Regions from separate parts of the Homo sapiens genome. Here all the other regions are linked to region 2. The links are contacts of gene promoters, found by promoter capture Hi-C in blood cells and fetal thymus (Javierre and others, 2016). All regions are on one chromosome and are shown on one strand. Each heading gives the region's core, a stretch centred on a gene start or on the middle of the fragment in contact. The rest is flanking DNA. Distances are from core to core; before and after follow the strand shown. Region 1 has its middle 160 kb from the start of PRDM13. Region 2 holds the start of FAXC (failed axon connections homolog, metaxin like GST domain containing). Region 3 has its middle 120 kb from the start of PRDM13. Region 4 has its middle 180 kb from the start of MCHR2-AS1. Region 5 has its middle 180 kb from the start of PRDM13.

What was found. The method cuts DNA at HindIII sites, captures the fragments that hold promoters and counts their contacts. A CHiCAGO score of 5 or more calls a contact.
Region 1: a fragment that was not itself captured here is called in contact with the fragment with the promoter of FAXC in region 2 in 3 of 17 cell types (total CD8 T cells, naive CD4 T cells and total B cells); the score reaches 7.0 in total CD8 T cells.
Region 3: a fragment that was not itself captured here is called in contact with the fragment with the promoter of FAXC in region 2 in 1 of 17 cell types (erythroblasts); the score reaches 5.2 in erythroblasts.
Region 4: a contact is called between a fragment that was not itself captured here and the fragment with the promoter of FAXC in region 2, in 1 of 17 cell types (naive CD8 T cells). The highest score is 5.3, in naive CD8 T cells.
Region 5: a fragment that was not itself captured here is called in contact with the fragment with the promoter of FAXC in region 2 in 1 of 17 cell types (naive CD8 T cells); the score reaches 5.1 in naive CD8 T cells.

The regions. Positions count from the first base shown.
Region 1 is chr6:99,763,512-99,768,803 of GRCh38, reverse strand. No RefSeq gene overlaps it. Among named protein-coding and RNA genes, the nearest start is that of PRDM13, 160 kb to the right of the region's middle. The HindIII fragment of the contact is 1,173 bases long and covers 2,570-3,742 here.
Region 2 is chr6:99,347,063-99,353,130 of GRCh38, reverse strand. FAXC (failed axon connections homolog, metaxin like GST domain containing) reads left to right here and starts at 3,457. Exons shown (of 6, transcript NM_032511.4): 1 at 3,457-4,024. The coding sequence starts at 3,759. RefSeq lists silencers at 3,108-3,187, 3,248-3,297, 3,368-3,427 and an enhancer at 4,619-5,183. The HindIII fragment of the contact is 2,521 bases long and covers 2,693-5,213 here.
Region 3 is chr6:99,723,902-99,729,699 of GRCh38, reverse strand. No RefSeq gene overlaps it. Among named protein-coding and RNA genes, the nearest start is that of PRDM13, 120 kb to the right of the region's middle. The HindIII fragment of the contact is 1,751 bases long and covers 736-2,486 here.
Region 4 is chr6:99,806,328-99,812,241 of GRCh38, reverse strand. No RefSeq gene overlaps it. Among named protein-coding and RNA genes, the nearest start is that of MCHR2-AS1, 180 kb to the left of the region's middle. The HindIII fragment of the contact is 1,715 bases long and covers 1,964-3,678 here.
Region 5 is chr6:99,788,864-99,794,350 of GRCh38, reverse strand. No RefSeq gene overlaps it. Among named protein-coding and RNA genes, the nearest start is that of PRDM13, 180 kb to the right of the region's middle. The HindIII fragment of the contact is 9,560 bases long and covers 1-5,487 here.

The DNA of each region.
Region 1 (5,292 bases), core at 1,907-4,406, 420 kb before region 2:
CCCTAATACAGGAATAACAACAGACATTTTCTCTCACCACTTCTATTCAATATTCAATATTGTACTGGAGGTTTTGGCTAGTACAATAAGACCAAAAAAAAAAAAAAAAGGAAGGAAAGGAGAGAGGAATGGAGGGAAGGCATCCAGATTAAAAAGAAAAAAAGTGAAACTGTATTTGTAGATAGTGTGTTGTCTATGTAAAATGGCATCTCCAAAAAGTGATTAGAACTAATACATGAATTTAGCAAGGTTGTAGGATCACAAGTTCAAGATAGGAAAATCAACTGCCTTTATATACACAGGTTTATCTTGTTTCATTGCACTTTATTGCACTTCGCAGATATTGCATTTTTTTTACAAATTGAAGGTTTGTGGCAACCCTCCACTGAGCAAGTCTATCAACATTTTTTAAGAGCATGTGTTCACTTCATATCTCTGTGTCAGCATTTCTTAGCAATAAAGTATTTTAAAATTAAACTATGTACACTGTTTTTAAACATAATGCTATTGCACACTTAATAGACTATAGTATAAATGTAACTTTTATATGCACTTGCAAACCAAATAATTTGTGTGACTTGCTTTATTGCAATATTGGCTTTATTGTGATGGTATGGAACTGAACCTACAATATCTCCAAGGTTTGCCTGTACTAGCAAAATAAATAATTGAGAAATTTAAACTAAAATATACCTCCATTTACAAAGCCATTAAAATATGAAATATTAAAGGATAAAACTGACAAACGTGGTGCAAAACCTGTTCATTTAAAACTACAAATATTGCTCAGAGACATTAAAGAAGGCCTAAATGAAGAATTAAGCCATATTCATGGGTTAATTCTTAAAAATACTCAATATTGTTAAGCTGTCAATTTTTCCCAAATTGATCTATAGATTTAACACAGTCTTAACCAAAATCTGAGGGACTTTTTTTTTGCAGAAATTGACAAGCTCAATCTAAAATATATATGGAAATGCAAAATACACAGAATTTATGCAAATTACATGCAAAATATATAGAATACAGGTTTTAGCTAAACAGCTTTGAAAACGAACAATATTGGAGAACTAATATGACCAATTTCAAGACTTACTACAACAATAGCCAAAATAGTGTAAAGATAGACAAATAGACCAATGAAATAAAATAGACCTATGCCTATGTGAACAATTAATTTTTTACAAAAATGCCAGAAAAATGCAGTGGTAAAAGGATAGTCCTTTCAACAAATGGTAATAGAACAATTGGATATCTGCATGCAAAAAATAAAATTTAATCCATATTTATTCATACCTCACAACATATAGGTGCTTAAGTCTCTTACAGATTATAGACCTAAATACAAAAACCTTAAACTGTAAAATTTCTACTAAAAATAAAAAATGGGAAAAATCATGTGACCTTAGTCTGGGCATTTTTTAAATAAAACACCAAAACCATGATCCATAAAAGAAAAATGGACAAACTGGACTTCGTCAAAATTAAAAACTTCAAAAAATGTCAAGAGAATGAAAAGAAGAGCTACAGACTGGGAGAATATATTTGGAAAATACATATCTAATGAATGATTTATATTGAGAACAAATAACTCTCCAAACTTAATAATAAGAATATAAACAACTGAATTTTTAAATGGCCAAAAGATTTTAACACTTCACCAAAGAAAGACATATAGATGGCAACTAAGCTCATGTTTAACAAATTAGACATGAAGGAAATTCAAATTAAAACCACATGAGATATCACTATATACCTATTAGAATAGTTAAAATTAAAAAGACCATGTCAAATATTGGAAAAGACATGGAAATTTTCATATACTACTGTCAAGAATGTAAAATGGTACAACCACTTTGGAAAACAGTTTCTTTAAAAGCTAAACACCACCTTCCATATGATCCAGAAATTTTACTTCTAGGTTATTTACCCAAGAGAAAAGGAGTATATACAAAGACTTGCACATGAATATTCACAGCAGTTTTATTTGTAATAGACCAAAACTGGAAACAAGTCAAATGTCTATCAATAAGTAAATGAACAAATTATTATATATCTATAAAACAAAATACTACTCAGCAATAAAAAGAATGACCTTTTGATACATACAATGAAGTGGATGAATTTTAATATAATTATGCTGAGTGAAAGAAGCCAGAAAAAGAGTACTGTATGATTCCATTCATATAAGTTCTAGGGAACTATATAGGCACAAATATCTACACTGACAGAAAGTGATGAGTTGTTGCCTCAGCATGGAGCTTGGGCAGGGAAAGGTGAAGGGGAGGGATAACAAGCAGCATGAGGAAACTTTTTGGGGTGAGGGACATATTAATTAGCATGATTATAATGATGTTTCACAGGTTTGTACACAGCTCAAAATTTATCAACTTATACGGTTAATATGTGCAGTTAATTTTATGCCAATTACACCTCAATAAAGTTATGAAACTTATATTTAGCTAATATCTTAAGGAGCACTCTGTACTTAGGTCAAGGTCCATCTTACTATTGGCAGATGTGAATCCATATTTCAAACTGTTCTTTATAATTATGTATTTTATAAGCTTCTTGGGAGTTTTATTATTATGAAAATATTATGAGGTTTATTAGCATAATTTTTATATTATAATAAGCCTGGCAAAGAACTTCAAGTGTGAGTGAGAGAAGCATCATTTCCTCCACTAGACCACTTGGGCTGTGGCCTGTATCACATGTACTTTTCAGAGCTCCACAATGAAGGGGCAGCAGCTACCTACTCAAAGGAAGCTCTTCTGAGCACAACAGCAGAGACATACAAGGGCATTTCAAACCCTTTTTTTGTGTCATATCAGCTAACATCTCATTGGCCAAAGCCAGTCATGCTGAGCCCAAAGTCAAGAAATGGGGAAGGACATTTCTCCTATGGCACTGGTGGACATGGAGTGGACATTTTTGAATTACTGTAATAGTTATCTACTAAAGTCCAACCTCTTTTTCATGTGTTTTATGCTCTTCCCACATATGAAATACATTCCGCAACATCCAAGACCTTCCAAGATTTCATCAAAATTACAACATCAGGCTCAGAAATAAAGATTTACATCATCAGTTGCAGTTTCTCTTGCTCTGGAGAGCTATGAATTACAAAGACGAGTTTTCTTTTTCACACACTTTATATACAATAGAAGACCTACATACCACATGAATCCTCCCAACCATTTTGAAACAGGAAGAGTAGAAAGTACATAGCAATCACTAGACAATAAAAATTCTGACATACCACTTGGCGAATGTCTGGTTTACTTATCTTGAAGGTTGAGAATATTTCTCGATTAGACTCAATTCTGCCTCTGAGTGGCTCCTTAGTCTTTTGTTTTCTATGGCACTGACAGACAGTCCATTCTTTTCCATATCCTCCTTGGAAAATCCTGAGTAGGGAACTGGAGAATATGTACTTTTTGAGCAGCTGAGCATCCTGCTTGTAGAATGCTGGGGACACATCTCTAACAGTATTGGCTTCTTTTAGTCCAGAGACTACTAACATGATTTTGCTAATACAAATATCTCAGAAATACTGTGGGTTTTCTATATATTTGATTCCATTCAACTCCATGTGCCAAAAGGATTGTGTGAATTCACAGTCCTTTTCAAGATGGATATTTCTCCCTCTAAACCTAATGTTTTGTACTCTGGGCACATCAGGCTGATATAGCACCATACTCTTACATATTTTAGAAGCCCTTTTGTCTTAATAAAAGCTTCTACTGATCTAATTAAACTAAAGAGCTTCTGCACAGCAAAAGAAGCTACCATCAGAGTGAACAGGCAACTTAAGAATGGGAGAAAATTTTTACAATGTACCCATCTGACAAAGGGCTAATATCCAGAATCTACAAAGAACTTAAACAAATTTACACAAAAAAATCAAACAACCCCATCAAAAAGTAGGCAAAGGATATGAACAGACACTTCTCAAAAGAAAACATTTATGCAGCCAACAGACACATGAAAAAATGCTCATCATCACTGGCCATCAGAGAAATGCAAATCAAAACCACAATGAGATACCATCTCACACCAGTTAGAATGGTGATCATTAAAAAGTCAGGAAAACAGGTGCTGGAGAGGATGTGGAGAAATAGGAATGCTTTTACACTGTTGGTGGGACTGTAAACTAGTTCAACCATTGTGGAAGACAGTGTGGCGATTCCTCAGGGATCTAGAACTAGAAATACCATTTGGCCCAGCCATCCCATTACTGGGTATATACCCAAAGGAGTATGAATCATGCTGCCTTAAAGACACATGCACACATATGTTTACTGCGGCACTATTCACAATAGCAAAGACTTGGAAGCAACCCAAACGTCCAACAATGATAGACTGGATTGAGAAAATGTGGCACATATACACCATGGAATACTATGCAACCATAAAAAAGGATGAGTTCATGTCCTTTGTAGGGACATGGATGAAGCTGGAAACCACCATTCTCAGCAAACTATCGCAAGGACAAAAAACCAAACACCATATGTTCTCACTCATAGGTGGGAATTGAACAATGAGAACACTTGGACACAGGGTGGGGAACATCACACACCGGGGCCTGTCCTGGGGTGGCGGGAGGGGGAAGGGATAGCATTAGGAGATATATCTAATGTAAATGATGAGTTAATGGGTGCAGCACACCAACATAGCACATGTATACATATGTAACAAACCTGCACGTTGTGCACATGTACCCTAGAACTTAAAGTATAATTTTAAAAAAAAGAAAAATGCAAAATTCAGTCAAGTGGAGCATACAGACAAATAAACAAATGATTTCAAAAAAAAAAAAAGCATCTACTAGAACAGTGCTTCTCAAAATAGTTGTGTTAAAGAATCAGGGTTTTTTTCTGTAATTTACTATAACTGATACTTTTGTAAACTATGATAAAATATGACAGTAATGTCAAATTTCTATGAAACTCTCCAATACTTCTTCTTCTTAGCTTGATCTAGCCCCTGCCTACTTTGGCAACCTCAGCCTTACTGTTTCCTCCTAGCTCACTATGCTCCAGCCATAGGGGCCTTACATTCTGTTCCTTAAACACACCAAATCATTTCTGCCTCAAGATTTTTACACTAGCCATCTCCTAAAATTTAGACATTCTTACCCCCAATTTTTGCCTGTCTAGCTCCTTTTTGCAATTCAAGTCTCAGATTAACTATCATCTCCTCAAAGAGGCTCTTTCTAACCTTTGTAAATTTGCCTCACTCACTCCCTATCATATCATTCCACTATATTTTATTTACAGTACTTGTCAC
Region 2 (6,068 bases), core at 2,208-4,707:
TTCTAATGTGGCCCAGGGAAGCCAAAAGATTGGACACCGCTGATGGAGGTGGTGGAGCGCCCACAGGGCCACTGGTGTAAGACATGCTTGGATCCATCATCACCTCACTCTGGGAATTGAACTTGTTAATTGTCCCCTCTGGGCCTTAGTTTCTTTCAGTTGTAAAATTGAAATGACAATACTTATCTAACATAGCTTGTTACTGGAAAAAAAATCACTATACAACACAAACAGGTGTTCAATCAATATTAGTTCCTTCTTTTTTCTTGTCTTATAACAACTCAATTAAAGTTAGTTAACAAAAAGTCCTTGAAAAAGAAAAAGAAATTGCCTCTAGTTTGGAGCTAATGTCCATGCGTACGGCACCAAAGCTGTCAAAATTAGTGGTGGTGGTGGTAGAAGGGGTGAAGTAGAGATGCCTAGCCTAGTGCCCAGAGTCTTCAAATTTTCTCACTAACTATAGGAGCCTCAGGAGGAGAGCTGGGGTGCAGACATGCTCAGCTCCTGCACCTTCAGCCTCAGTAGGGAGGCCCTGCATAGCTGCTGTGGCTTCAGCCTGTGACTTGGCTCTACACTAGGGATTCTGAGGAGCCATTCTTTGCAGAATCAGCCTCCTTAGCAACTCTTGTTAACCAAGCTGTGTTTGGTTCCTTTCTACTGAGTTTATCCCACCACCACCACTCCTCTGGGGCTGAGTCCCTTGCCCCTGAGCCTGAGTCTCCCATCTTTCTACAGCTGGCTTGCACCCCTTTGTGGAGCAGCTTTTCCCTCTGAAACTCAGTCTGTCTTTGGATGAAGATTTGGCTGAGGATTGCATCAGTCGGTGCCTTTACAGCTAGAGCTGCTTTCCTTGCTCCCCAAAGGTTTGTTCTGAGGTTCTTCTTTTTTATTTCAGATGGAGTCTCACTCTGTCACCCAGGCTAGAGTGCAGTGGCGCGATCTCAGCTCACTGCGACCTCTGCTTCCCAGGTTCAAGTGATTCTCCTGCCTCAGACTCCCAGGTAGCTGGGGTTACAGGTGCTCGACACCATGCCTAGCTAATTTTTGTATTTTTTTTTTAGTAGAGACACAGTTTCACCATGTTGGCCAGGCTGGTCTCAAACTCTTGACCTCAAGTGATCTGCCCACCTCCCAAAGTGCTGGGATTACAGGCATGAGCCACCCCACCATGCCCGGCCTGTTCTGACATTCTGATACCAAATATTTGTCCAACTCAGATTTGTTGTCTCCTCAGTCTACTCTTCCTCTTTTCATCTTATACAGCCCTAACAATAATCATCTTTTCTCTTCTATGCCATGGATCTAAAAGTTAAAATTTAAGATGCATCAGATTAAGATGACATTTTAGTTTCTCTTGTGGAATTTTATTTTATTTTTATTTTTATTTTTATTGAGACGGTGTCTCGCTCTTGTTACCCAGGCTGGGGTGCAATGGCACAATCTCTCCTCACTGAGACCTCCGCCTCCTGGGTTCAAGCAATTCTCCTGCCTTAGCCTTCCGAGTAGCTGGAATTACAGGTGCTCGTCACCACTCCCGGCTAATTTTTTGTATTTTCAGTAGAGACGGGGTTTCGCCATGTTGGCCAGGCTGATCTCGAACTCGTGACCTTAGGTGATCCACCCACCTTGGCCTCCCAAAGTGTTGGGATTACATGTGTGAGCCACCTGTGCCCAGCCCACATCTGCTTCTTAAAGATGTTCACTGCAGTGTCTCTAAAAATGTAAACCATATTTGAACCAGAGACCAGATGATGCTCAACAGTTGTCTGACACTACCAGGAAGCAGCAGTGGGCCCCTGGCCTGCATGAGTGGGTGGGGCAGGTCACTATGAGTGAGAGTGAATTGTAGTCAGTGGCTTTCTGGGATAAAAATACTACACTTCCTCTGGGTTCTAACTTGTTTTGGGCATAAGGTTTGTCAGGATTGACTCTCCCTTTTGCCTTCCATATTCTTCCACTTAAGGTAATTTATGCCCATCCCCATGTCTAGACCTAGATATGCAAATAATGTGATCCCAAATATCAAACTTATATTCTTTAAATATTGGCTCAGTGTTCACTGAGAGCAAAGACTGAGTGCTCTGTGGGAAGGGCACAGAAGGAGCATGGAGAATCCCTGGTGCCAGCCCTCCTTGTTCCCTCTTCCAGAGCACTGCAGCTTTGGTCCCAGACTTAACTACTCTGCTTCTTGCCGACAAGGCCAGGCAGCCTTCTGGCCTCTCTCCTTGAAAGACCGGCTGGTGACCACCTCAGTCACCCCAGGAGGCCGTTGGGTTTCACTCCTTGCAACCTACTTATGGGAGCCTCACTTAGAACCACACACATTACTTCTTCCTGGGAGGTCACATTTTCCCAGGAGTGTTTGGGGAGTCTCACATGCTGGTGCCTAGGCATCAGCTGACTAGCCCCTCCCCCCGTCTCGTTGAGGCGACACGTCCATATTTATTATTTATTAACAAGACGACCACACTCCTTGCCTGTTCTAAGGGGCGGGTGTGTCAGGAGAGGAAAAAAAGGGGGAGTCCTTTTGCGCCTCAATCTCTGCTCCATAGGCAAGAGCCTGGAGGTTTCTTTTACCCATCCTTCCACCTTGAGAGTGATGAACCTCCACGGCCCGAATCCTTTTTCAGTTCTTCCAAACAATTTAAAACTATCCATGCTCTTGTTAAAATCTGTGCATATATTACAAGCTTCTATTCTTTGTACTTATGAACTTTAATAAATGAAGTTAAAGGAAAAAAATACACTGAACACACACACAGTTGTTAGACAGATTTTCTAAAACAAAAGAGGGACCCCCGTCCCCCAACCGAAACCCTGTATCAGCGAGTTCCCTGATAGTGACTTCAAAGAGGAAAGACTTGAACTGGGTTTGTCAGAGAAATCTCTCTAGGTAGAGTATTTTGTTATTTGCCAAACCAGACATCTCGTCTCTGCGAACACCTGGTCAAGCCCGAGGTAATTGTGTAATGTAATAAGAGTGTTTTTATACATTATGCAAATACGCAGCGCTTTCCTGATGGCCAGAACAATCTGATTCCCGACTTTAATCCTGGCCCACGCTCCCAGCCCCCGCCTGGTGGCGTCTCCTGCCCGCAGCTCCGCGCCGCCCCAGGTGAGTCCTGCGCGTTCCCTACTCTGGGGCCCGCGGGAGGGGCTGGAGCGCAGGCGGAGGGCCGGCCGGGGTAGGGGAGGACCGGGATCCGGGCCCCGACTGCAGCTTCCTCGCGGTGGGGCCGCATTTCCAGGCACCTCCGCCGCCCTTGCCCGCGCGCGGCGAGCGGTTTTTGGGCGTGCCGCCCGGAGGCGCGGAGCCTGCCCGGCGCGCCTCAGCCCTGCAGATCCGGCCCCGGCGGAGGCGGCCGGACCGCGGAGATGCGGGGAGGGGGCAGGGCGCGGGGTAGGTGACTTTATCCCGCCTCTGTTTCCCTGCCCCGGGGAGCAATGACATCACGCGGCCTTCTCCAGGCGCCGACACAAAGAGCGGGGCGGAGAGGCAGCTGCGGGGGGAGCCGGCGGCCGCTGCTGCCGCCCAGGGCTCTGGGGCCCCGCCGGCCAGGCCCGCCGTCCGCGGCCAGTGCCCTTCCTCCTCCTCCTCCTCTGCCGCCGCCTCCTCAGTCGCCGCCGCCTCCTCAGTCGCCGCCGCCCGCGCCGCCCGCGCCCTCCGCGCGCCTCTGAGCCCGCGCCGGGCCGCGCCGGCCCCTTCCCATGCGGGCGGCGCGGGCCCTGGGAGGGGCGCCCGGAGCCAGCCGCGCAGCATGCACTGGGGGGTTGGCTTTGCTTCGTCCAGGCCGTGCGTGGTGGATCTGAGCTGGAACCAGAGCATCTCCTTCTTCGGCTGGTGGGCCGGGTCCGAGGAGCCCTTCTCCTTTTATGGGGACATCATCGCTTTCCCTTTGCAGGATTACGGTGGGATCATGGCAGGGCTGGGCTCCGATCCCTGGTGGAAGAAAACCCTTTACTTGACCGGGGGAGCTTTGCTGGCCGCAGCTGCGTATCTGCTCCACGAACTCCTGGTCATTAGGTGAGCCGGAGAGAGGGCCCCGCACAGGGGCGCAGAGAGGGGCACCTGGCTAGGGCAGGGCTGGCGCGAGAGGGGCCCGTGCCAGCCCCTCGGTCAAGCTGCCCAGATGCCCAAGCGCCCTGCAATTACCTTTCCCTAAAGGCATTTGTGGTCACCTGGCCGTGAGGGGCAGTTTAGAGTTGAAAGGAGAATTAAACCGGTGCTGGGAGGGAAAAACATTTGTCTCCCAAAATGCTCTGGGTCACTTGTCGTTATCTATTAAGAAATGGCCTTAGGAGGATCTAAGTGCAGTGTGTTTGCAACAATAGAATTGGGCCCTGCAGAAATAGGTTACACTTTTATGAAATGCCTTGTTTATAAGTAATAATGCTGGAATATTAACTGCTAACCTTATCTTTTACCTAAAGGTTAGTTCTTCCCTAAATGTCAACATCAAAAGACTGAAAAATTGCAAAAGCTCCAGAAACCTGCGGGTCCCTGTTAAAGATGCATGACCAAGTGTAGTGGTGGGCAGCTTTGATGCAGCCTTAACCTGGTTCTCTGCTTATCTGGTATTGAACGCCAAGCACCATCTTCAGGCTTAGATGTCATTGTTGTGTGAGCAGTAGGACAGGCTAGCACATGGGTGTGTTGGGCACAACACGGAGTCGCCCAGTGCCGTAAACAGTTGCATCCGCTGCCGCAGAATGTTTACAAGATTGAGTTGGAAATACCAGAAAATGGAGGCCCCTGCTGTTGGTACATCCAGCCGGGACGAGATTTTTGTTTGGGTAGAGTAATACCACAGGGCACTGAGACAGTCGTTTGGCTAATTGATACATCAATTAATGGTTAAAATTTCCATGCATTTGAGCCTTCCGTCACTGGAAGATTACCAGAAGCCCAGTTTTCAATAGCTCAGAATGTCTCTTTGCCAGTATTTTCTAAAGTGAGAGAAATGTGTCCACACTGCCTTATTCCAGTGGAGGAATCCTACACAATAGGTTATAAACAAAGACAGTGATAGGTGACCTGTACTAGCCTGCAGGGATCCCAGGAGATTATTGTGATGGCCTAATGTAGGCATTTGGCCTAACGTACATATTTTGAATAGTTCCCATCTCTGAAAGGGTGGGAAATCATTTAGGTTTGGAGAAATGTATTGGTTTTCATATTATTTAGCCATATTTGAGGAAGTTTATTTTAAGCTTGTTGCACATTTAATTCTCTCAACACATTGCCTTGAATCTAGCTGAACCAAACAAAAAAATTTAAAGAGAATTATCTCTCTAGATTATTTGTTAATTGTGCTAGTTTTAGAACTGTATTTCAAGTTAGATTTCAAGCTACCTAAAGAACTAAAACATTTGGGCAGTAATTTAAATGGTAACCCAGTTGTTTCTCAGTTGTATTCTAGTCTAAAGCCTTTGAGGAGATCCCAAACCATGAGGCTTCTCAGCAGTGGAGGGAGTGAAGGCTTCACAGGACCAAGTTTAAAACAAAGCTTAAATGACCTTGCAGAAACAGTGTGGAGCTCAGCTGCCACTCCGGAGTAGGCCCTGCCCTGGCAGGTGTTGTCACTGGAGACTGGAGAGCTCTCTGCCCACAGATAGCTACTAACTCATTTAGGGGACTATATACCTCAGCACTGGATGCTTATTTGGACTAAGGAGTTTAATCCTAGGTTGATTCACACTTTTTCTTCCTTTTTTTTTTTTTTTCTTTTGAGACTGAGTCTCGCTTTGTCGCCCATGTTGGAGTGCAGTGGCTCGATCTCAGCTCATTGCAACCTCCACCTCCCTGGTTCAAATGATTCTCCTGGCTCAGCCTCCTGAGTAGCTGGGATTACAGGCGTGCACCACCGCGTCTGGATAATTTTTGTATTTTTAGTAGAGATAGGGTTTCACCGTGTTGGCCAGGCTGCTCTTGAACTCCTGGGATCAAGCGATCCTCTGGCCTCAGTCTGCTGAGTTGCTGGGATTACAGGCATGAACCATTGCACTTGGCTAATTTTTTTTTTAACTTTTTTGTGGAGATGGGGTCTCACTATGTTGCCCAGGCTTGT
Region 3 (5,798 bases), core at 362-2,861, 380 kb before region 2:
CCCCGTCTCTACTAAAAATACAAAAAAAAAAAATAGCTATGCATGGTGGTGCATGCCTGTAATCCCCAGCTACTCAGGAGGCTGAGGCAGGAGAATTGCTTGAACCCGGGAGGCGGAGGTTGCAGTGAACCAAGATCGTGCCACTGCACTCCAGCCTGGGAGACAGAGTGAGATTCTATCTCAAAAGGTAATAATAATGAAATAAAATAATAAAGTAAAATTCATGTGGAACCACAAAGACCCCAAATAGCCAATGCAATCCTGAGTAAAAATAACAAAGCTAGAGGCATCATACTACCTGCCTCCAAATTATACTATAAAACTATAGTAACCAAAACAATGTGCTACTGGCATAAAAACAGACACATAGACAAGGGAAACAGAATACAAAGCCCAGAAACAACTTCATGCTTCTATGGCCAATTGAGTTTCAACAAACGTGCCAAGAATGCATGTTGAAGAAAAGACAGTCTCTTCAATAAGAGTGCTGGGAAAATTCCATACCTACATGCAGAAGAATGAGACTAGACTTCTACCTCTCACCACAGACAAAAATCAACTCAAAATGGATTAAAGACTTAAATGTAAAAACCCAAACTGCAAAACTCTTAGAAGGAAACACAGGAGAAATGCTTCATGAGATTGGGCTTGGCAAAGATTTCTTAAATAAGGCCTCAAAAGCACAGCAACAAAAGCAAAAAATAGACAAATGGGATTATATCAAACTAAAAAGCTTCTACACAGCAAAGCAACCAATTAACAGACTGAAGAGACAACTTACAGAATGGGAGAAAATATTTGCAAACTGTACTCCCAACAAGAGGTTAATATCCGAAATATATTTTTAAAACTTCAATATGGCTGGGCACAATGGCTCATGCCTATAATTCCAGCAGTTTGGGAGGCAACAAAGGGAGACCCCATTTGTACAAAAAATAAAACTAAATGAATTATCCAGGCACTATGGCATGTGCCTGTAGCCCCAGTGACTCAGGAGACCGAAACAGGAGGATCACTTGAGCCCAGGAGTTCAAGGCTACAGTGAGCTATGATTGCACCACTGCACTCCAGCCTGGGCAACAGAGTGAAATTTTGTCTCTAAATAAATAAATAAAAAGAAAATAACTCAATAGCAATAATAATAATAATGGTCTGACTTTAAAAATGGGCAAAAGACCTTAACAGATGTTCTGAAATAAAAAAGATGCACAAGGCTGGGCACAATGGCTCGCACATGTAATCCCAGCACTTTGGGAGGTCAAGGCAGGAAGATTGCTTGCACTCAGGAATTTGACACCAGCCTGGGCAACAAAGTAAAACCTTGCCTCTACAAAAAACTTAAAAAATTAGCCAGGTGTGGTGGTATGTGCCTATGACTACTTGATAAACTGAGGTGGGAGGATCACTTGAGCCCAGGAGGTCAAGGCTTCAGTCATTCATGTTCATGCCACTGCACTCCAGCCTGGGCAACAGAGACGTTGTCTCAAAAAAAAAAAAAAAAAGATACACAAATGCCATGATGGGTGTATGAAAAAAAAATGTTCAACAATACTAATCACCAGGAAAATGTAAATCAAAATCACAATGAGATATTTTCTCACTCCAGTTAGAACAGTTACTATAAAAAGACAAAAGAAAACAAGTGTTGGGAAGGATGTGGAGAAAAGGGAACTCTTATGCACTGTTGGTGGGATTATAAATGACTACAGCCATTATGGAAAACATTATGGAGGTTCCTCAAAAAATTAAAAATAGAATAATAAAGAATAATAAAACATGTATTCTTGGCACGTTTGTTGAAACTTAATTGGCCATAGAACCATATAATCCAGCAATCCCACTGCTAAATACATATTCAAAGGAAATGAAATCAGTATGTTGAAGAGATATCTGCAGTCCATGTTTATTGCGGCACTATTTACAATAGCCAAGATATGGAATCAATCTAAGTTTCCTACAATGAATGAATAGATATATATTTATATCCCATTTTCTTTATCCATTCATTCTTTTTATGGCTTAATAGTATACCATTATATATAATGCATATATATAATGGATATAGTATATTCATTCAATGAATTGTATACCATTATATATATATATAATTCCACATAATATTATATATATAATGGTATACTATTCAGCCATAAAAAATAATGAAATCCCGTCATTTTGACTACATGAATGAAACTGGAAGACACCATATTAAGTGAAATAAGCCAGATACAGAAAGACAAATACTGCATGATCTCATTATTATGTGGAACATAATAAAACAATGTTGAAATCATAGAAGTAGAGAGTAGAATAGTGATTATCAGAGACTGTGAAGATGTGGGGGGAAAAGAGGATGGCGAGAGGTGGATCAATAGGTGCAAAGTTACATTAAATAGGAGGAATTAGTTCTGGGTTCTATTGCACAGTAGAGGAACTACGGTTAACAGTAAGGTATTGTATATGACAAAATAGCTAGAGGATAAGCTTCTGAATGTTTTCAGCATAAAGAGTTGATAAATGCATGAGATGATGAATATGCTAACTACCCTGATTTTATCGTTATACTACATATACATGTATCAAAACATCAAACTGTACTCCATAAATATGTACAATTATAATGTGTCCATTTAAAAAAAAATAAAATATTGTCCTCAGAAACCTGTTGTACTCAGAAAGGAGGGATCTTTGCTCGCTATTGTTCACATTTATGACTATAAGCATATTCTTCAGAATCAGTTTGATTGTCACTCAGGAAAGCAGAAAGAGGCCATTAGGAGAGCATGTGCAGAAAAAAGGGCTGCTTGATGAAGCCAGGCCAGCAGACACCTGGGCAGCAGGGATGCCGCCTGGGCCTTCTAGACTGCAGAAAGGAAAAGACTGACTACAACTGGCCCTGCTTCACCAGTCTCCTCCTTACTGCTGTGGAAGATGTAAGCTGATTGAAAACGAGGAAGGTAAAAAGGGAATTGGAAAATGGGAAAAATCTCCACGCCTGTACCCAGATTTTCATCTTACAGCAGCCTGTACAGCAAGTCTACCTTACACATAAGTAAAATATGTACCAACTACAACTGTGCTTCCCAGTCAACAGTTTTCAAATCCCTAAAAGCTTAAAGGCAATAGTAGCATCAATTCTGTTTCTATTTTTCAAGAATAACAATGCATGAAATATCTACATCATTTTCCCAGTGAAACTGAATGGTGTGAGAGCGTGGGGGTTTATGTCAAATGAGCAAGATCAATAGCGAATACTGTTGCTGAAGTCCTAGTTACCTCATCATTTATCATTTAGCTAAAACCAATAGCTACCTTGAGGATTTGACTATTATGCAACTTTGGGTGTTTTCATTCTTATTCAGGTATTATTTAATTTATAACTAAATACTAGTCATTAAAAAAAAGAATTAGGAACAAGATGGTGGAATGGAAGACTCCACCAATTGTGTCCCCCACTGCAAGGACACCAATCTAACAGCTATCTACACAACAAAACACTTTCATAAGAAACAAAAATCAGGTGAGCACTCACAGTACCTAGTTTTAACTTTGTGAAAGAGACACTGAAGAGATAGAAAAAAACAGGCTTGAATCACCAATGCCATCCCTCCCTGAGCAGTGGCGTGGGGTGGAGAGCAGTTCTGTTTGCTGGGGGAGGGAGAGCTGGCAGTTGTGAGACACTGAACTCAGTGTTGTCCTGTTATAGCAGAAAGGAACACCAGACCAAACTCAACTGATGCCCCCCCAAGGAGAGACTATTTAAACCAGCTCTACCCAGGGTGCATTCATTGATCCCAGTGGTTGGAACTTGAATTCCCACAAGCATCACCACCTGCAAGCCTTGCCACCACAGGCTAAAGTGCCCTGGGGCTCTAAATAAATTTGAAAGGCAATCTAGGCCACAAGGACTACAACACCTAGGTGAATCCTAGGGCTTAACCAGGCCCAGAGACAGTGGACTGGTGGGGCACATGACCTACTGAGACACCAGCTGGGGCAGCTAAGGGAGTGCTGGCACCACCCCTCCGCTAACCCTAGGCTGCAAATCTCCTAACTCCAAAAGATACCTCTTCCTTCACACCTGAGGAAAGGAGAGGCAAGAATGGGCCACATCTTGGATACCAGCTCAGCCACAGGAGAATAGGGCATGGGGCAGAGTCACGAGGCCTCATTTCCAGGCCCTACCTCCCAGACATTTCTAGACACACCTTGGGCTAGAAGGGAATCTGCTCCTTGAAGGGAAGGACCCAGTGCTGGCAACATTTATCACCTGCTAACCAAAGAGCCCTCAGACCCTAAATAAACAGCAGCAATACCCAGGTACTACATTGAGGGGCTGAGGTGAGCCTCTGAGACTTGCTGGCTTCAGGTGAGACACAGCATATTATGAGCTGAGTGTCCACGGGCCAAAACTCCTTTTGCTTCAGAAAAGCAGAGGGAAAAGTAAGGGGGACTTTGTCTTGGATCTTAGGTATCAGCCCAGCCATGGGAGTTAGAGCACCAAGCAGTCTCTTGGCATCCCAGATTCTAGGATTTCGCTCTTGAACAGCATTTCTGGACCTGCCATGGGCCAGAGGGGAGCCCCCTGCCCCAAAATGTGAGTACCAGGCCAGGGAGTATTCACCACAAGCTGACCTAACAGCCCTCGGTCCTTAAGGGAACATTGGCAGCAGTCTGCTGGTACTCCCTGTGGCCTTTGGTGGTGGTGCCCATACAGTGAGGCTCCTCTGCCTTTGGAAAGGGGAGGAAAGGGTGGGAAGGATTACATCTTCTGGTTTGAGTACCAGCTCAATTGTAGTACAATAGAACACTAGGTAGGCTTCTAAGGTTTTTGACTGTAGTCCCTGGCTCCAGGATGACACTTCTAGACTTGCCTGGGGTCTTGGGGAACTCACTACCCTGGAGGAAAGGACACAGGCCTGGCTGGCTTTACTACCTGATGATTTTAGAGCCCCACAGCTTGAGTGAACATAGGCAGTAGCAAAGGAGTAGTTACAGCAGGCCTTGGGCAAGACCCAGTGCTGCAGTGGCTTCAGGTCAGACCCAGTGCAGTCATAGGTGGTGGCCACAGATATGCTTGTGTCACTACACCCCCAGGTTCAAGTGGCTCAGAACAGAGACAGATTCTGTTTGTATGAGAGATAGTAACGGAAAATAAAAAGTTTCTGCCTGGTAATCCAGAGAATTTTGTCAGATCTTGCCCAAGACCATCAAGGCAGTACCTCTACGAGTCTGCAAGAACCACAGTGTTACTGGGTTCTGGGTGCTCCCTAATGCAGATACAGCTTACACAACAGCCAAGTTATTCTGAATATCTGGAAAGCTTTCCCAAGAAGGATGAGTACAAAGAAGCCCAGACTATGAAGACTACAATAAATATCTAACTCCTCAATGCCCAGACACTGAATAACATCTACAAGTATTAAAACAATCCAGAAAAGTATGACCTCACTAGATGAACTAAATAAGTTACCAGGGACCAATCCTGGAGAGACAGAGATATGTAGCCTTTCAGAAAGAGAACTCAAAATAGCTGTTTTGAGGAAACACAGAAATTTAAGAGGACACAGAGAAGGAATTCAGAAGTCTATCAGATAAATTTAACTAAAAGATTAAAATAATCAAAAAGAATTAGCCAGAAATTCTGAGCTGAAAAACGCAATTGGCATATTGAATAATGCATCAGAGTCTTTTAATAGCAGAACTGATCAAGCAGAAGAAAGAATTAGTGAACTTGAAGATAGGTTGAAAATACACAGCCAGAGGAGATAAAATAAAAAAGAATAAAAAACAATGAA
Region 4 (5,914 bases), core at 1,572-4,071, 460 kb before region 2:
CATATCTACCCCTAATTCCCACTGGATTTGCATGAACATAGCTAAATTGCATTTGAATTCAAACTGTGACCTCCCTCCTCACTCCCTGCCCATCATACCCAAAATAAACATTTTTAATAATACAAAGGAGCAATTTGTTAAGTTCTAAGAGAATAACACAGACAACAATGAATATACATATTCACAGATAAGATTACTAGTTAAGAAGAAATTGTCTGAAACAAAGAATCATAATTGATCCTTTAAAGTCTTTAAGTATTTAGAGACCTAGAGAGGTTAAAAGCAAGAGTTCCAGGAAAATGTATCAGCAAGAGGAAGGCTGTCAAGGCAGGAGCATGTTCACATATTCAGTGATTACATGCAAGGAATCATGCCAGGACCTGGGGATGTTCAGATGGTTAAGGTAAGTCTCTGCCTTGTGGTAGCTTTGTAAGTCTAGCTCAGATAACATCTATATAAAATCCTTACAACTGTTGAATATGGAAAATGCTATACTTGCCACAGTTAAGAGAGTGTTAATATTCAAACAGTTAAATATTCAAACAGAGGAAGAGGTGATAGAAAGTATTAGGGAGGAGGTAATATTTGAGCTGGGCCCAAAACGGGTAGCATTACGTCAGGCACAGAAGGCAAAAAGGGAAATCCAAGCAGAGGAAATAGCGCAAGCAAACATATAGGACATGTTCAAGAAATTATGCCCATTTCTTAGTTAGGCCAGGAATGTCATGGGAGATAGGACAGGAATGTTAGGGCAGGCTTCTTAGAGCAGGTAATTAGGCAGACATGAGCAAGGCAGGAGAGGCCCCACCCCCAGGAATGTCAGGCAACCATCAGGTGATGGTCAGGTGGCTGTTAAACAACCACTGTAAAATAATAATTGGTCATGACCAGCACCAGGGAAACAGAGTCTCCCAGTAGGTAGTAAACACCTGAAGCTGGTGATCAGCAGCTTCCTGATAAGATCTCAGGAGCTGGATGAGTGGGCTCAAGCATGTACGCTAAGAGGCAAAATGGCAGCATTTAACCAGTACATGACCCTCCTTTAGGAACACTAGACTGGTAAGAAAAAAACACCTAAAGTGTGCTGTACAGCTTCAGTAAGCACACTGTGCATGTGGCCCCTCCCAAGTGCTGGCAGGCCACTGCACATGCAGACAGCTCGCTCCAAGGGAAGAATCAAGGGAGAAGAAACATAAACCCTGGAACCATGCCAATGTACAAAACCCCAAGTCAAGGGCCAGACAGGACACTTGCATCTCTTAAGTCACCTTCTTGACCCTCTTCCAAGTGTACTTTACTTCCTTTTGTTCCTGCTCTAAAACTTTTTGATAAACTCACTCCTGCTCTAAAATTTGCTTAGGTCTCTCTCTCTACCTGAAACCTACTTCTGCTCCTCAGCCAAATTATTTCCTCCAAGGAGGCAAGGGTCAGGTTTGCGGCAGACCTGTCAGATTCGCCACTGGTAACAGGCTCGGGCTGTGGAAGAACTTTAATCCCAGAAGTTTGGATTTTATTCTTCAGGCAGTGAGAATTCCCTGAAGAGCAAGCAATGGGGTCTGAGTAGAAGTTTTATGAAAATAAATCTGAAAACAGCATATGGTACAGAAAGCAAGAGTGGGGAACAAATTTATCTATAGATACAGGATGAGCTAGAAATCTAGCTGCAAAAGCTTATAGTAGAAAAATGGAAGGTTGTGAAAGACAGCACAAATGAACAGACAGGAGGCAACGTATGTGAGAGATGTTGCACAATAGAATAAACCAGGATGCAACAAGTGGTTGAGGTGACAGGTAAGAGATACAGACAAGTTAAAGAGGATGGCTTGATTTCTAGCTGGATGATGAGGTTGGTGATACAATTAACAGAAATAATCTCAGAGGGGAGGGAAGAAGATAATATGAACAAGTCATGTTCAGGGACTCAAATGTAAAACATCCTAGAATGGGCTTCTCAATAAAAGCTTCAGGAGATTTAGGAACACCCAAAGGGAATGAATACACACACACACACACACACACACACACACACACACACACACGCACACACACACAAAATCTGTCATCAAACTCTCAATCACATCTGAACTTTCCCCCAGCTTTTTAGCTTGGTTCTATTCTTCTAAATGGATAGAGCCTTTATATTGAGGAGTGAGTGGTTAGAAGTAAATTTGAAAAATTTGATGGCCTGTGAAGGAACTTAAAATCTAGATGAGGGGTCTTGCAGAAAAATGGGGGAAGTGGCATTTTTTAAATTGAGGCAAGAAACAATGAAAGTGATGTTTTAGCAGATTGATTTGAAATAAAAAGCAGAACTATTTGAAGAAAGAGACCAGAAATAGAAAGACCAGGTAAGAAGGCATTAGGACAATCCAGGTAATGAGCGAGCCCTGGGGAGAACAGAGAAAAACAACCTGGAAACAATCAAGGCAGATGTACAAGGACTGAGTGACCAGTTGAACATGGGAGTGAAGAGAAAGGTAAGCCTGACCTTGGTGATTGTGGTGCTGTTTGCAGAAACATGGACTTTAGGGAGAGACCGTTCTTACTGAAGAGCTATGCTACATGTGCTCAGTTGAAAGCAGTGCTGGGATGTGCAAGCAAACATGTTCAGGTCATCAAAGGAGTTAAAGAGTTATGCCCAGGAAAGAGTTCAGAACCAGAGACAAATTCAGGCATCATCAGCACCAATAAAACCCTAAAAGAGCAGTCGTGAGAATATGATCGTTGAAAAAAAAAAAAAAAAAAGCTAAACCTTGAATCAGAATAAAAAGAAAACTATCAGAACATATAAATTGAAACAAAATGGTAGAAACAATCTAGGTTTTGGTCCATGACCTTTCACTAAATAAAGACCACAATCTTGGGATCCATTCAGTGCTAACAACCTCATTTTAGAGAGGAAAATAACATGCCTAAGCTAGTATGAAAACAGCACAAAGGCACATTTTTTTTTTTATTGATGTCTTGGAACCTTGGAAAAAGCACAACTCATCTGAAAGCCTTGACTCTCTGTAAACAGTAGTGTGTCCCTTTGGAGTTGGGTGTGCCTCTGAATTACACACATTTCCCTCAAGCTGGGCATACACTGTCACTATCCATAGCTCTACCAGGAAGAAAGAATGGTTTGAAGTGATCAAAAGACAAGGGGCAAGCCTGCTTTTGCCCCTTGCCTCTCAGCCTTCCCTTCCTAACCCCATACCTCCCATCCTCTCTCTGCGGTGTCCATTCTAGCACCATTGTCCATCCGTGTTATCTGACAATCCGTAACAGCCCCCACTCCAACCCAGCTGTCAGGAAACAACAAACCCAGTTTACCAAGCACCTGAAAGAGAGCACACTTCAGAAATTCCTAGAGAAGATGGGTAGAGAGGCACAGGAGTCATTTAAGGCTGCTGCAGCCATAACCCACATTTACCAACAGAACTGGTAGAAATGAAAGTCAAACTTGCTTTGTCCTTAGTCCATGGATTCTTTCTAAATATAGAACCTGCTGTAGAAACAAGGGATTGGGGAAGAGAGGGAGGGAAGGACTCAGAGATCGAGAGTGCTTGGGAAAAAGAGGGAAAAAAACTACTTTCATTTTTCCTGTGAAAAATAGAAGACACGTGGCAGATAGAATTCTCATCCAATTCATTGATCTTAGCTCTTCAGAGATTCTTTCAGAAGTAATTAGAAGCTTTTTTCTTGTCCAACAATTCTGTACTCAAGGAGAGCCATTTCCTAAGTGAAATAAGCTTATTTTTTGAAGAAGCTTATTTAGCATTTTTAGATAACTTTAGGTTGAAGAAGCCTATTGGACAAGATGTTCTATTTTAAATCCCATGAGGAAACATAACTGTTTGTTTGAAGATGGCTTGTTTGTTGTTTTCTATATAAAATTGGGCAAGAGGCTCTTTAAATTTTTTATAAATACATAAATAAAACATGGATTTCATGTCCTTTGGAAAGCAACATTTGTATATTTATATGGAGTTTCACTAAATATGAAACAAAAGTCTGCTATTTCTAAGGCATTTACATTCATGGATATTGTATTATTATATATTCATATACAATACAATTCACAGAAATACAAATTGCTGAAATCTTGTTGGGAGTGAATTCCATTTTAAATTCTAAGTACATGTTATGCTAACCTAGCATCTCACCAGTAGTCACCTACCACTAGATGGGAAGCACTGGAGAAGCAGAACAGCCACATACTCTAAAAGTATGAAAGAAATGGCAAAGTCAGTCTGGTATTGGTCCGTGCATTAGCCAGGGCCATCAGGAGACAAAAACACACCAGAAAGTTTAGTTGGGAGAATTTAACATAAAGAATAGTTAGCCAGGTATTGGAGAATTGGAAATGAAAAGGGGGCCATACTGAGGTATCACAGAGATAGTAACTACAATGAGTAGCTACCACCCCAAGGACTGTGGGAACAAAGGGAATGGAATGGAATTAAGAAAATGTAGAAGCTTGAAGGAGGGACCCTCAAGGAGCTGGCATGCAGATCTCTGAGGAGGGAAAGCTGGCATTTCGGGGCAGGAGAGGGTGGGGACAGGTGTTTAGGCTGGTTCTGAAAGTACTGCTGTAATGGAACAACCGTCAAGGCCAGTATGAAGAACCATCACTGTGGTGACACTGAAAGGAACAGGAAGAAACAGGTCCCTACTTTCAGACTCTTTGAGTGGCCCCCTGTGCCAGTATGTAACAGAGGCTAGCACAGGAGAAAAGTTTGCAGGGATTCAGCCCAGCATCATAAAGCGGAATATAAAAGAGTGGGGTTAAAAGTACAGTAGCAATAAACCAGTGTGGTCCACATTTTAAAAGGGTCTCATATGATTAACATTGTTTCCTCTGCTTACAGAGAGAGTCTCTAATGCAATTGTCTTATTTCACCAAAACAAGTGCACCCTCCTCTGCAAAAGCAGCACAGGAAAGGGAATAAAGGAAAATGAGATAATTGGCCTTACTGGAAATAGAAGAGGTGTCCTGGTATTGGATCAGATATAAAGCGCAACATTGTGCTCATCTTTAACATCCTCCTTAGGCTTTTCAGTATAATTTTGTGTCTCAGGTTAGGAAAAGCCCAGTATTTTAGATTTTCATTGGCATTTGGCTATTTATAAAAACTAGTTTTCAAGGTACAGAAAAAGAATGTTCCTTGTTCTCAAGAATGACCACTATCACCCCATATTTTTTTGTAACTACTTGTTGATGAAAAGACGTAGATATTGTTGACTGGGCTGCAGCCATCAGTGACAGCTCCTACCTAGTTATTCCTACAGGTAGAATTTTTTGTTACCCAAGAGGATGAAAGTTCTAAAACCCTGACATGTTATCCCAAACCTACTCACAAAAACTTATAATGAATAAAGTTCCTTTAAAAAACTTTGTCTATTGTATATAATGGCATCAAAAGATACTACTAATATTTTAAGTGAGAAAAAAGCAACATGTACAATACAATCTCATTTTTGTGCAAATACATATAGAAAAAAGGGTCAGAAGGAAATATACCAAAATCTCTCTAGTGCTTATACCAATGTGTGGGATTATATTTACTTTTACTTTTATCATGTCTTATTTATATTTTGTATGTAACAACATAATAATAATATTAATAGCTATTATTTGTGAAGTGTAGTGCTGCTGCTGAGACTGCTTGGGTCTTAGTAGCACCATTTTACATGGAAGGAAATGAAAACATGAACAGTAATTTGCCCTGACTCCTTTAGCAGGTGGGAACAGAAGGGGATCCCAACCCCAGTCTGTCAGCCTCACAAGTCTGGAGAGGGAAATAGTTATTTTTAAAAACTGATTATAGTCAAACCTTTAGTTAAATGCAATAGACTGTTTTCTTTATTTACTACTTTTTAATGAATGTACATTGATTCAAAATTATTAGGTTTCCTACTAATTTATCCA
Region 5 (5,487 bases), core at 1,873-4,372, 440 kb before region 2:
TGTCCTGCCATTGGGACCGACTTCTCTCTACCCATCTTCAAGTTCAGATATAATTAGAAAAGGAAAACATGATTGCCCAGTACACACCTGCACTGAGCATAAATGAAATGGAAATCTCATGAGCACAAGTTGACCTGCCTTTATAAAAGAAGAGCCTAAGTATGTATATTTTATTTTAAGAACTAGAAAAATGTGCAGATGCTACAAAACTGACTAAAAAATAGATGCTGTCACACAATATACCCATGTAACAAACCTGCACATGCACCCCCGAATCTAAAATAAAAGTTAAAATTTAAAAAAAAAAAGACAACCAAACAAAAACTAGATGCTAATCCCCCAATTTTGTTTAATCACTATACTTCCTGAATAATTATTAATTTATTTTCTTCTCTGGCCCACCTGGAAAGCCCTTTACTCTCCTTATGTAACATGAATCATGTTTTCTCCTGGCTCTTTGTCCTGCCAGCTTGTTCATTTTAACAAAGATGAGAAGACAAAGAACATTTTCTCTTAAATTTCATTTCATTTTCATTTTATTTGTGTGGTTCAATAAAAAAGGAAAAATGATTGGTGTTTGGGACTTCGTGAGAGAATGAACAGCTGGAGCAGAACATGATTCAGGGGCTTGAGAATCTATATCTCAGCCATCCTCCATCTGTCATCTGCCTAACTAGCTATACTCTATCCAGGTTACTCCCAAAATGTTTCTTTCCTCATCTATCTCCCACCAGAACATAAACTCCATGAAGAGAAGGACTTTTGTGTGCTTTGTTCACCATTTGTTCCCAGTCACTAGAACAACTTGTACTTGGAACACATGGATGCTTTTTAAATAAGTAATATTTGTTGAATAAGAAGTAAGTAGATACTTTCAGGATGTCATCAGAAGGAAATCTATCCCCAAGAAAAATTACTGCCATGGTAACCTCTGATGACCATGGATTTCTTTGTGTGCTTTGAAATTTCGCTTTGTGCTCTTATCTTGCATGAGGGTGTTTACCCCATTCAGGTGTTTCTCTTGGAGTGGTTTTGAGGTTGCCTCAGCCTGGCCCTCTGGGCTACCCAGACATTAACCAAGTTAGAGGGTTGGGGTTGTTGCCCCTTACAGGAAAGATAGTCTCAAAATCTCCACCCACAGGCAGCTCAAGCATCCTCCCCATTTTGACTCAAATGCCTGTCTTTCCCACTGGAGCTACCAGCATGGGTCTGTTTCTAGCTGCAACACAGGTAATGTGGCTTATACTCCTTGTCCAGTACTAACATCAGTTTGTCCCTACTCGCCACTATCCATTCCTGATCCACTGTTCTTCCTCTTGTTCTTAAGCTCATATATGTACTTTAAAATTTTTTTAAATACTTGTTTTCAATTATTCCTATGTCTCGGGAATAGAGTGGAGAAGATCATATGATATACCATCTTGAAGTCACCTTAAGTTTTTGAAACTCAAAAAATTGGGAAGGTAATTGATTCTCTTTTCTCTCTGAAATTATTTAATGAAAAATACCTACTTATATTGTCTATATTGGTCGGCTTTCTGAGAGGTAGATTTTTTTCTTTCCAGAAAACCATAATCAGTGGATTGTTCTAATGGTGAACTTTGTTTTCCTAAAATTAACTGTAGTTGATTCCTTATTTATTTGGTAAATACTTATATGACACTATGTGCCAGTCATTGTTCTAAGTATTTACAAAAATTAACTTATTTAAGGATAGTAGTAGATTGTGTTCAAAAATGGCTGCAACAGTTCCTCTCATCCCTGTATGGATATCCCTTTACAATTTGATGTCATCGTCCTTCCCATTAAGAACTAGCCTCTTTCTCCATCCCCTTAAATTGAGCCCCCTAGTAACTTGCTTTGACCAATTAAATGCAGCAGAAATTACAATATGTAACTTCCAAATCTATGCCTCCAGAGGCCTTACAGTGCCTGTTCTTGACCTTCTTACTCTCCTGAAATTGCCATATAAAGGAGCCTAGAGGCAAAACTTAAACTGGGCATGGTGGCTCATGCCTGTAATCCCAGCACTTTGAGAGGCCAAGGCAGGTGGATCACCTGAGGTCAGGAGGTCAAGACCAGCCTGGCCAATGTGACAAAACCCCATCTCTACTAAAAATAGAAAAATTAGCCAGGTGTGTTGGCGGGTTCCTGTAAGCCCAGCTACTTGGGAGGCTGAGGCAGGAGAATTGCTTGAACCCAGGAGACAGAGATTGCAGTGAGCTGAGATATTGCCCAGGCTGGAGTGCAATGGCGCTAAGAGTGAAACTCCGTCTCAAAAAACAAAAAAGAAAAAGAAAAAGAAAAGAAAAGAAACCACATGGAGAAAGAGACCCAACCAACAGCCAGCACCAATTGTCAGACATGTAAGAGAGACCATTGTGGGCCACCCAGCCCCAAATGTGGCCTGCAGCCACACAAATGCCCACAGTCAGACTAGCAGAACTGCCCAGCTGATCCTGGCTGAACAAATTGCCAGCATGGGATTATAAGTGATAATTAATGTAAGACTCTAAAATTTGGAGTGGTATGTTATGAAATATTAGATAATTGATATAATTGTTGTTATTCAAAGACTACATCAATTATTGCATTCCATATATCAATATTTTATTTAAAATTTTAGAACTATGTCCTAAATTAGATTGACACAGTTTTCTTTCTCATGATACAGCTTTGTTTAGTTCGATATTACATTTTATTAGACTTATAAAATCAGAGCGATAATATCTAACTTCTTCTATTCTATAAAACTGTTTAAGTAGCATAAAATTACCTATTTCTTTTTTTGTTTTGTTTTTTGTTTTTTTGGTTTTTTTTGAGATGGAGTCTCATTTTGTCACCCAGGCTGGAGGGCAGTGACCCGATCTCAGCTCACTGCAACCTCTGCCTCCTGGGTTCAAGCGATTCTCCTGCCTCCCAGATAGCTGGGATTACAGGTGCCCACCACCACGCCCAGCTAATTTTTGTGTTTTTAGTAGATACAGGTGTTCACCATGTTGGTCAGGCTGGTCTTGAACTCCTGGCCTCAAGTAATCCACCTGCCTCGGCCTCCCAAAGTGCTGGGGTTACAGGCATGAGCCACCATGCCCAGCCAAAATTACCTGTTTCTTAAAGATTTGTTAGAACTTATTCATAAAATTGTCTGAGCTTGGTGGCTTCATTCACCATAAATATCTTACTAGCTTTTCAATATGTTTTTAATGTATTATTTCCTTTTTAGTCTATTTATTCTATTTTATTTGTATATAGTTAACAGTGAGATTTTCCATTTCTTAACCTGTTGAAATACTATAAATATTGGGATTTTTATTGATTTAGGAAGTTAACAAAGAAAATCTAAAGCCATGACATTTTTCTTGTTATCAATTATCCTAATGCTGACTAAAATAATTTAAGCAACAGGGATATTTTAAATAATTTCATTGATGCTAATCAAAAGGTCTGTGTTATGCCATTTTAAAATACACCAGTAGGTGGAACTCTGATAATAACTAAATAATCTTTGTTAGTATTACCTGTCTCTGTTCCCTGCACTATTCTCATTTTGTATGTTGAAAAGAACAAAATACATGTATCCTGAAATCAAGGGGACATTATATAATAATTTATGGAAGTATATTATTCAGGTAGACATTAAAATGTAGTACTTAGAAAAATACCAAATATTCAACTAGATGAATAAAAAGAAAATATATCAACAAAAACTCTATTAATATATTTATGTACTTCAAATGGATACAATTTGTGTCTAAAAATAGGAAAATGATTAAATAAATTACAATATGTTTATACAGCAGAATATTAAAATATAAAGCATTAAAAATGATATAATTAAATACTTTTTAATGCTCAGTATAAAAATACAAAATTAATTTTATCTAATTTTTATAAAAATTACACATATACATAACATGGAAAGATAGCAACATATTGATATTATTTCTTGATGGTGATTTTCATCATCTTTTTGCACATTTTTTAACATCCAAATTCTCTTGAAGGGGACTGATTTGCTTTCATAATCAAAAGAAAATTTTTATTTACAATGTGATTGGCATTCTTCTTACAGTCATATCTCATTAGCAATATATAAATACCAAATTAATGAATGATATTGGGCAATGACCTTAAAATCCTGTCCTGGGATCTGCTTATTCATGGCAATATATAAGTTCAGACCCAAAGGGGGTGAAAAAGAGAGACCCAAAGAAGGGCAGATGGCTGTGGAAAGGGATAGAAAGATGCTTAATCACCCCTCCCTCTTTCCTCCTTTAATATGGTTCACTTGTCCCTCAAAACACATGAATGCATTTGTACGTGCCCACAGCCTTAATGATGGGAGGAGACTTTCCCAGGTTTCTCCCTGCAGGTGGGAAGACAGAAAGCTCTGTGGCCTGAGCACCAGGGCTGTGGCTGGCCCCAGAGCAAGAGATAGAGGGGATCCCAAAACCTTCTATTACAGAATCTGTCTGGGAGCCACCACAGCCTTTCAACAGCTGGTTGAGCTGCATTGAAAAGATCAAGATTACTGAGGATATTTATATCACTTTGATGGATACTTTTGTTAAAAAGACATATTATGTAGAAGGGCTTGGTCAGAAATCATTGCATTTTTGTTTTGTGTAGGACTTTATCCTTTGCCACTTTGAGGCAGGCACTCTGGTTTTTCTTGAGAGCAGGTGCTCTGGGCTCTGCTCCCTGGGCTGGTGGGAATGAAATGAGGACACCACAGGACAGCACACTGGTTCCCAGAGGAGACGGGAGGTAAAAGACTGAGAGGATGAGAATGAGCGAAGGACAAGCACTCCACACAACTCCAGTGGGAAGGTGGCCAGGGCAAGAGCATGGGCAGCAGCATAATGTCTGTCATTTTATATTTTTAGTCACTTTTTTAAAAGTATAATTTACATAGAATAAAATTCATCAATTTTAAGGTTACATTTGATGAGTTTTGACCATTTCCATCATTTCTGAAGGGTGCCACTTCAGAAACACCCCCTCATGCCACTTTGCAATCACTCTCCCTTGTATTTTACATTTTAGATGGACACAATGATGACACATCCCAAAAAGAAAACTATGACTCAAGGTTGACAAGAACAAAGGTAGTCATGGGAGTAATACGATATGTGAACTTGAGACTGTCCCCAAAACCTGGGCCATCAGGATATCATACATATGAAGACTAGGTGGTTTTAAGTCTGGAAAAGTAGAGAAATAGTGACAGTAGGAGAAAGTGAATCCTGCCCTGGGATCTGCTTGTTTATAATTACAAAGGCCATTAACAAGCAGATCCCAGGGCAGGATTTTAAGAAGGTCATAAAGGAGATGGGAGCGGAAGGGAAAAGTGAATAAAACGGAGGCTGGAGAGAGTGGTGGTGGCGGGAGCAGGAAGAGAATAGGCCAGAACAGTACTACCTACTTTTAATTTTAATTTTTTGTTTCTACCTTTTCTGAAATAATCCAAATAGTGAGATTGATATG